Regions from separate parts of the Homo sapiens genome. Here regions 1 and 2 are each linked to region 3. Evidence: promoter capture Hi-C in 16 types of primary human blood cells and fetal thymus (Javierre and others, 2016). All regions are on one chromosome and are shown on one strand. The core of a region is centred on a gene start or on the middle of the fragment in contact, and the rest is flanking DNA. Distances in the headings are between cores, read along the strand shown. Region 1 overlaps ABCC1 (ATP binding cassette subfamily C member 1 (ABCC1 blood group)). Region 2 overlaps MYH11 (myosin heavy chain 11). Region 3 holds the start of MYH11 (myosin heavy chain 11).

The links. Contacts are between HindIII fragments. The CHiCAGO score rates a contact against its expected background, and 5 or more counts as called.
Region 1: a fragment that was not itself captured here is called in contact with the fragment with the promoter of MYH11 in region 3 in 2 of 17 cell types (megakaryocytes and endothelial precursors); the score reaches 5.5 in megakaryocytes.
Region 2: a contact is called between a fragment that was not itself captured here and the fragment with the promoter of MYH11 in region 3, in 4 of 17 cell types (megakaryocytes, endothelial precursors, erythroblasts and 1 more). The highest score is 10.2, in megakaryocytes.

The regions. Positions count from the first base shown.
Region 1 is chr16:15,957,632-15,960,880 of GRCh38, reverse strand. The region is part of intron 1 of ABCC1 (ATP binding cassette subfamily C member 1 (ABCC1 blood group)); the gene reads right to left. Among named protein-coding and RNA genes, the nearest start is that of ABCC1, 9.6 kb to the right of the region's middle. RefSeq lists enhancers at 1,695-2,195, 2,196-2,696. The HindIII fragment of the contact is 473 bases long and covers 1,724-2,196 here.
Region 2 is chr16:15,781,403-15,784,415 of GRCh38, reverse strand. It overlaps MYH11 (myosin heavy chain 11), which reads left to right. Exons shown (of 41, transcript NM_002474.3): 6 at 1,939-2,031. Among named protein-coding and RNA genes, the nearest start is that of MYH11, 74 kb to the left of the region's middle. The HindIII fragment of the contact is 705 bases long and covers 1,364-2,068 here.
Region 3 is chr16:15,855,695-15,858,594 of GRCh38, reverse strand. It overlaps MYH11 (myosin heavy chain 11), which reads left to right and starts at 1,567. Exons shown (of 41, transcript NM_002474.3): 1 at 1,567-1,654. RefSeq lists an enhancer at 20-521. The HindIII fragment of the contact is 5,018 bases long and covers 1-2,900 here.

The sequences.
Region 1 (3,249 bases), core at 711-3,210, 100 kb before region 3:
CCATTGTGTTAGTGCTTTATGCATTTTGCCGAATGCTCCAGGCTAGATTTTTATGAGATGGGCTCTGCAGTTCCTTTGAGTTAAACTCCTCAATACTTTAACCACACCATGATCTTCCTCAAGGCCTATGCACATTCTCTTCCCACTCTGGGACTCCCTTCCCCCACATCCTTGCATGGCCAGCTTTGCCACTGAGCTCTGGGGTCAAACCTCACCGCCTCCGAAAGGCCTTCTGTGGACATCCCTCCGTAGTAGTTTGCACCTCACCCAGTTTTTCCCGGTTCAAGTCTTTGCAGCACTTGCCAGCATCTGAAATCATTTCCGTCACCCTCAGTGTAAACCCCATGAGAACATGGGCCTGGTCTGTCCTGTTCACTGTTGTATCCTCAGTGCCTAGAGCAGCAGCAGCACATAGTAGCTGCTCAATTAATAATGACTGAATAAATGAATGAATGAAAAGCAGTGTGGGAAGAACAATACAATGAACCCAGGGGTATCAAAGACCACACGAGGCTGGGCGTGGTGGCTCACACCTGTAATCCCAGCACTCTGGGAGACTGCTTGAGCTCAAGAGTTCAAGACCAAACTGGGCAACATAGTGAAACCCCATCTCTACAAAAAAAAATACAAAAATTAGCCGGGTGTGCTGGTGCATGCCTGTAGTCCCAGCTACTTGGGAGGGTGAGTTGGGAGGGTCACTTGGCCTGGGAGGTCGAGACTGCAGTGCAGTGGTACAATCAGCTAGGGCGACAGAACAAGACTCCATCCATCAATCAGTCAAACACCACACAAATTTCTTGTACTGGGAAGACTTAGACATCACACATATTCTCCAAACAAGTATTACCTAGGAGGCCAGTAAAAGGTACACTGAGGTTCCTCAGAGAGAAAACTCACAGAGAGGAAGATAAAAGCTCCATAAAAATCTCAATTACTACTTGAGGGTTACAGGATGCTAGCCTAGAGCCTCCCTCCCTAGACAGGTTTCTCAGAGAGAAAACTCACAGAGAGGAAGAGAAAACCTCCATAAAAATCTCAATTCCTGAGGGTTACAGGATGCTAGCCTAGGGGCACCCTCCCTGGTCATTAACACCCACTTTCCAGAACCTGGCAACCTCCCCAGGAGATGAATCCCACAGTTAAACTAAGGGGACACTTAAGTGGAATCTCAACTTTGTAATCGTCCACTTCTCCTGGGGCACTTTAAAATGAAGGAGTAGAGCTTCAAAGCTGATCTCTCAAGAAAGCCATTTTCGGCTGGGCATGGTGGCTCACGCCTGTAATCCCAGCACTTTGGGAGGCCGAGGCAGGAGGATCGCTTGAGCCCAGGAGTTTGAGACAAGCCTGGGCAACATGGTGAGACCCTGACTCTACAAAAAATACAAAAATTAGCCGGGTATGGTGGTGTGCACCTCTGGTCCCAGCTACCTGGGAGGCTAAGGTGGGAAGATAGCTTCAGCCCAGGAGGTCGAGGCTGCAGTGAGCTATGATTGTGCCACTGCACTCCAGCCTGGGTGACAGAGGGAGACCCTGTCTCAAAAGAAAAAAGAAAGAAAAAGAAAAAGAAAGCCATTTTTGTTTTCCCAGGGGAGAATGAACTGTCACAACTCCAACTGGGAAAATGGAAAAAGGTAAAAAGACACAGCCCTCAGTAAAAAAGAAACTGCCGCAAGTTTCTTCTCTAGCTAATTGGAGTTTAACCTCCTTAACGTCTCATTAAGCTTCTCCAAGGCAACCCCAGTAAGCCAATTACACTAGAATTTCGACAGCCCACAACCTCCTAGGGAAATGCAGGATGAGGAGGAAGGTCTTGCTCCATGTTTCTCCCCCATATTCCTCCACACCAGTGGCTGTGTGATTTCACACCCCAGGGAACATATGGAAACATCTAGAGGCATTTTCGGTTGTCACAACAAGAGGAGGTGCTACCAGCATCTACTAGGGGGTAGAGGCCAGGTTTGGGGCTAAGACTACGCTGCACAGAACAGCAACCAGGCCACAAAGAATGATGTGGCCTACATGTCAACGGGGCCGACACTGAGCAACTGTGCTCCATGTCCCCACCCGCAAAATACAGCTTCCTCAAAGGCCCCGTTCAACCATTCAGCCTCTAAGAGGTAAGTGCAGGTCCCCAGCACCACTCCACCCACAGGGATGCTGCCCTATCCCAGTTTTCTTGCTAAGCGGGGGGAAGCTTGCCTCAGGATGTCTGGCCATTAATTAATTTTGGCAAAATGTTTGGGCAAGTTTTCACGAGCTAGAGTTGTACTGACCACACTAAGAGCTGATCATCAAAGCTAGGCCTTACTTCGCCATGAAAATCTGAAGCCAACATACCAATCAGATGCTAACTTCAAGGTTGGCCTGCAAAGCAGGAGATGCCAACTCAGATACCAACAGGTGCCAAAGTGGGTTCCATCCATGCAAGAAGCAGACCAGGTGTGAGGAAGCACAATTTTAAAAAGGCAACAGGCCAGGCACGGTGGCTCATGCCTGTAATCCCAGCACTTTGGGAGGCTGAGGAACTCAAGTGATCCACTTGAGTTCAGGAATTCAAGACCAGCCTGGCCAATATGGAGAAACCCCATCTCTACTAAAAATACAAAAATAAGCCGAGTGTGGTGGTGCGGGCCTGTAATCCCAGCTACTCGGGAAGCTGAGGCAGCAGAATCACTGGAACCCGGGAGGCAGAGGTTGCAGTGAGCCGAGATTCCACTACTGCACTCCAGCCTGGGTGACAGAGCGAGACTTCGTCTCAAAAAAATAATATAAAATAAAACAAAGGCAACAAACATTTGGCCTTAAAATTAAAGCAACAACAGGGAGGGGTGGGGACTGCGGCAAACTGGAGCAACTCAGAAACGGACAGCCTCAGCGGACCGCTACCATGTATAAATGTGGGCCTGGGGCTAGCAGAACTTCTGATTTTTCAAGGGAAGCCAGAAATCCAGATGTTTCTGTGAAATCTGCCAATGAATAAACATTGTAGGGCGGGCCACAGTGGCTCATGCCTGTAATCCCAGCACTTTAGGAGGCCGAGGCGGGCGGATCACGAGGTCAAGAGATCGAGGCCATGCTGGCCAACATACTGGAAACCCCGTTTCTATCAAAAACACAAAAATTAGCTGGATGTGGTGGCGTGCCCCTGTAGTCCCAGCTACTGGGGAGGCTGAGGCAGAATTGCTTGAACCCAGGAGGCAGAGGTTGCAGTGAGCCAAGATCGTGCCACTGCACTCCAGCCTGGCAACA
Region 2 (3,013 bases), core at 467-2,966, 74 kb after region 3:
CTGCACCCTTCAAAGCATCCGCTCCTGGTACCCTTGACTGGAACAACCTAGACAGAGATGTCTGTCCCATCTGGCTGAGTGTTTTAGGACTGTCAGGCCCCAAAGCTTCCCTGGCTCGATGGACAGTCGATGGCACAGCTGTGGCATGCCTCCCTCTTCTCTCCCTGCCATCATCCCTAAGTGTCTTCCCTCAGCCCTGTCCCTGGTGCACCAGTGTGTCCCTGTGCATGCGTGTGCAGTGCGTGTCTGTCTCTTGCATGCTGGTTGCTTGACTCAAGCCTCCAGAAACAGTCTTGGAGGTCGCGATGCACTAGCTTTGGTGGCGCGGTAAGGCCCCAGCTACGCAACGCATAACCTGGTCCTGCTTGGACCTGTGCATATGTAAACTCATCTCTAACACAGAGCTTGGGGGGCTGATGTGTGGGTCCCAGCCTAGAAGAAACCCACAGGTGTCTTCCTTGGCTCCCGAAAAGATCATTCAATCCATCTTAGTTAGACCCTGGGTGACTGTGTTGCAGATCAGAAGGAGAATTACAGTTCTTATTTGGGATCTGCTTTTGTGTGACCTTGGCCGAGTCAGTTAACTCCTCGGGGCTATGGTTTCATCATCTATAAAATTGAGGGTTTGAACCAGGTCCCCCGATTTAAAGCTCTCTTGCCAAGACTTTTCAACCTTACCTGCCAGAATCCCCATTCTAGAAAGGGAGCCTTTTTCAGAGAGCATGGAGACCCCAAGTTTATGTGAACAAAAGTGATTCCTTTAGTCGTCTTCCCACCAACAAAGAAATGCCCGTGGTGCTCCTTGTAAATTTCCACCAGTCTCAGCTGTGGTGATTCCACTTGTAGCTGAGATTTGTATGCGGATGAGGCTTTTGCTTCATCTTTCTCTGGGAGCTACAAAAAGGAGGATGTGTGGACAAATCAAAACAGAAACAAATAGCAGCTTCCTGCTTTGTCCTGTAGACCAGGTACCCTGATGCCTTCCTAGCATGCGGAGGAATGAGGAGGAAGCCATGCCCATCCTTGTCCCCTCTAGACACTTTCCCGGCTCCTGTCCAGCCCAGCCCTGATGCCTGGAAAAATAAGGAAGGGAAAGCAGGAGGGGAGGACAAGGAGAAAAACTCCCAGAATCCAGGGCCTGGAGGCCTCGGGGCCCAACTGCAGCCGCCATGTTTTAGGGCTAGGCCAAGAGCAGCTCGTTTGCTTTCCCAGCTTAACTTACCACATTGGCCCTTTCCTGCCATGATTAATCACGTGACCGCGTTTGTGCAAAGGCATCCCGGCAGAGGGGGCCGGTGGGCTGTGTACAGTCTCAGCTTCCTTTAACCCAATGAATGGAGCTCAGGCAACCTGCTTTGAAGCTTTATTCCGCAGTCCGCTAAGAGGATTCCTGGTGGGTTTTGTGCATTCCTTACTTGTCTGCTGTAGAAGACTTCAGAAAACCAGTCCTGAGAAAGAAAAAATTGCAACTTAAAAAAAATTGCACTAAAATAATTAGAAGGAGGCTTGTAGTGGTTTAACTTGAAGAAGGCTGCTTGTTAAACATGAACAGCAGCACGACTGCCATGTACAGTGGGACAGGTGGTGCACTGCACAACTCCGGGGGGCACCATTCATCATGATGTAAATGACATCACCGACATTGTGCAAGGCAGTGGCTTTGAGTGGCAGTGATGTTGCACAGATGAGCAGGCCCTGGTCTTGAAAAAAGTGACCTTCCTAGGGAGCAGATGTCCTAGCTATTAGAGAGCTCAGACAGTTGCTTCTCTTCTGAAATCCTCCTGTAAATCTGAACATTAGCATCAGGGTCTAAGAGGAGGTAGGAGATAGGAGAGAACCTGTGGGTTAAGGGCAGAGTTTTGTGACAACATCCATCCAAGGTAGAACTGTCAGGACCTAGGTTGCTTTCTCCAATAACTAGATGTGAATGAATTTTAGGGAGAGCTGGAAAAGCAGCTTCTACAAGCAAACCCGATTCTGGAGGCTTTCGGCAACGCCAAAACAGTGAAGAACGACAACTCCTCACGATTCGTAAGTAGCAAAGCCACATGGATTTTCCAGAAAAGCTTTGGTGTCATCTCCTGCCTGGGGCTGCAGAGTGTTTGCGTGCAGAGGTGGGAGGGGCATCTGACCCTGGAGAGATGGGCTGTATCTCACAATCTTGCAAGGGCTCCTGCCTCTCACTCTCTCATTCATTCATTAATTTATTCACTATTCACTCAACAAATATTGATTGGCCTGGTGCGGTGGCTCACACCTGTAATCCCAGCACTTTGGGAGGCTGAGGTGGGAGGATCACTTGAGCCCAGGGGTTCTAGACCAGCCTGGGCAACAAAGCGAGATCCCATCTCTATTATTAAAATAAAATTTAAAAAATTAGGTATTGAGCACCTGGTATGGGCTAGACCCTTATATCCGATACCATTTTATGTAACAAAACATGAATTGAGTGCCAACTGTGTACCAGGCACACACCTCCTCCAAGAAATACTTAGTAAGTACCTACTGTGTACAATTACTCTGGTAGGCACTTTTACATGTACCACCATTCTCTTTGTTTTTTTCTCATTTGCTGTTTTTATTAAGTGCCTACTGTATACCAGGCACTCAGCGAGTCTCACAGGATTGCGATGAATAGTTCAGATATGGTTCCAGCCTTCATGAAGCTGGTTCTTCCAACTGAATAACAGAGAGTAAGTGAGGCAGGGGGTACTACCTTCCCATGCACACTCCCCCAGGCTCCAAAGCAAAAAGTTTTTGCCTGAGCCCAACAGGGCAGGGGAACTCTGAAAGTGGATGGTTGATGATAGGTAGACAACAATGGTTTTATTGTGCAAAAGAAGCGGTTGTCTCCGTAGGAGGGTCAGAAAGATATTTTAGTGAGAAAAGATGAAGGAAAAATTGCCTCTGCATTCCAGGAGAAGGGGGTCTCTGAACTGTTGCTCGCTGAGATGGGGCCCTGTGAAAGACTCTTTGCAGAAAGCTCTGCTCTGCTGAGCAAATGCACATGGTG
Region 3 (2,900 bases), core at 318-2,817:
CCCAAGCAGAGGGGTCCCCATCTAGCCCCGCGGGGCAACGGCGGCCGGTGGCTGCGTGAAGGGCCCCCTCCCCCGACGCCGGGGAGCAGGAAGGCCACTCGGCACCATATTTAGTCAGGGGGAGCCGGCAGCCCAGAGCTGGTATGCGGCGCTGGGAATTCCTGCAGGAAGGAGTCCGCGCCTGCCCTTTTTGGGTTGTCTCCCGCCCGCCGCTCCCGCCGCTCCCGGGGAGGGGGACCGGCCCGGCCCGGCCCGGCCCGGGAACCTCGGAGGAGCTGGTGCCGCGCGGGGAGCGGAGCGCCCGGGCTGCCCGCGGGTCCCCGGCCTGGCGCGGGGCCAGCCCACCGCCTCGACTTCCTTTTATGGCCTGTGTGTGCGTGCGTGGACAGGAGCGGGGAGGGAGGGACGGGGAGAAGACGGAGAGCCTGGGGAAGAGAGAGAGAGAAAGCGCAGAGATAGGAGTGAGACACGCGGGAGAGATGGAGAGCAAGAGACACAGAGACCAGAGACAAAGTGAGACAGGAGGGAGAGACAGATACATCGACAGATCTAGAGAAGCGAGAGGGACAGAGACAAAAGATAGAGCGAGAGACAGCAATGATCAGAGTGACAGACATGCAGAGACAGTGGCAGAGACAGAGCGAGAGAGCCTGTGATGGAGAGAGACAGGGAATGCAATTTTAGGCGAGGAATCCTTGGGGAAGGGAAGTTGTTGAAGGGAACTCGCAGACTCTGGGGGCACACCCACTTTCTCCTTGGATCTTGACACTTGCATCTTGTAAATAACGTAATTATCACCGCCACCGCCTTCCCCCATTTTGTAGCTATGGACACCAAGTCTCAGAGAAGTGAAGTGACTTGCCCAAGGTCACGCAGCTGGCGAGTGGCGCACAGGGGAGGGGGACAGCTGAAATAATCACAGTGGGCTTATTTTTAATTTTTATTTGTATTTTGGTCGTGGTGATGTGGGTGGAGGTGGAGATGGCAAGTTGGGAAAAGTAAAAACTTCCCCTTCCTGCACGGTTCCCAGCAAGGGTGGGGGCCTCCTGTCTTGCACTTTGCAAAGTTCAAGAAATCCCCTTTCCCTACCCTTCACGCTGCACAGCCGGCCCTCTTTCCAGACAGTGCGATGCCAATAAAATGGGAAGTGGGGTGGGAGATGTCAAGTCAGATCCACCACAGCCCCGACACGGGGAGGAAGAGGTTAAAGCCTTTGCGGCCGGAACCGACTCAGGGAAGACGTTCTCAAGCATCCCGCACAGACACTGCCTGCTCGACCCCCTTTCTCTAGGGATCCGGAGCGTCTGCGACCGCCTGGGGCCGGGGCTGAGACTCCCGTCCCTGTGCGCACCTGTTCCGTGCGCCCTTGTGCGGTGCGCACCTGTTCCGTGCACCCTTGTCCCGAGCGCCCCAGCTCCTTGCGCTCCCGCCGGGGGTGCGCCCTGCAGGGGGCGCGGCGAGGGGGCCGCGAGGGACCCTCCCCAACTCCACCCCTTCGGCCTCCTCCCCTTTCCCAGCCGCGGGCAGCTCCGGGTCTATAAAGAGAGGCGTCCGAGGACGCGCAGGGAGATTTGGACGCTCCGGCCTGGGAGGTGCGTCAGATCCGAGCTCGCCATCCAGTTTCCTCTCCACTAGTCCCCCCAGTTGGAGATCTGTAAGTAGTAGTTGTCATTCTGGGGGCAGATTGCAGGGCAGGGGGGTGTTAAAAGTCCTATAGGGTATTCTATAGGGGCTGGGGTGCACTTAGGGGTCCCTGTTGTCAACCTCGTAAGGGCCATGGTGGGGGCAGAGTTGTGATTTGGATCTCTCTCTGCCTTATCGTCTTAGATTATCCTAGACTTTCCCCAAACAGCATTTCTTAAGATTGCCAGTGAGAAGTACCATTTTGGGGGTGCTTATTAACGATATCAATGCCTGGACCCAACTCCATTTCCCAACTCTAGAATCCCCAGAAAAACTGCCTTAAAAAAAAAAAAATTAGTCCCGAGTGATTCTTGTTAAGAGGCTAATCCAGGAGATATGCTCCCTTGGAAATCTCAGAGGTCCGGTGCAGACAATCAAGGCATCTCACTTTTATTCTAGGCACCAAAAAATTTACAGCTGAACTTCACTGAAAAGTCACTTGCTATCACACAGAAGGGCAAAGTGAGGCTCCTTGTGGATTTGACCGTATTGCACAGTTGTGTTGATAATGCATTAAATCAGTTAAAAACACATGGGCATAGGCTTAGCAGAAAGGAGTGTTGTTGTTTTTTTTTTTTAATCAGTTTAGGGGAGGTTCTTCTATGTTGAGAACCCCTGGGAGATAAGGCTGGTTGTGATCTAGTTTGTTACAGCCCACTTTTTCCTCTTCTCCAAATTAAAAAAAAAAAAAACAACTCACCCAGGTTGACCCCAAAGGGCCCCCAGATACCCAGGTGGGCTCCAAAGTCTCCATTTGCTTCCACGATCTGCAGGTGCGTTAGGTAAGATTACACTAGAATTTCCCGCAGAGCCACCTGTGTCAATGCCACTCTCGTGCCCAACCAAATGGGTAAAACGAGAGAAAGTGTGGCTACTGCCTGTTGTAAGTTTTCTTCCAGCACAGGGTCTGGTAGGGATTTTGCCACTTGAGAAAAGGTACCATCCAAAGCCATGCTTGTCAAGAAGTAAAAGAAAATATTTAGAAACCCAAGGTGGGAGTGTTTAGTTGCAGTATGAAGAACTGAGAGATTAAATGGTGAACTGTCCGTCCGGGGTTTGGCAAAAAGAATGCAGGCTATTAATAAACTGCTTTGCATAGTTTTTTGTTTCTTTGATTTACTCAACGATACTATTTTAGAATTGTTCAGAGACGGAACTTGACGCTGAACTGAAAGTCATTAGGTGGCAGGGTGTGAAATAAGATAGAGAATTTTGTT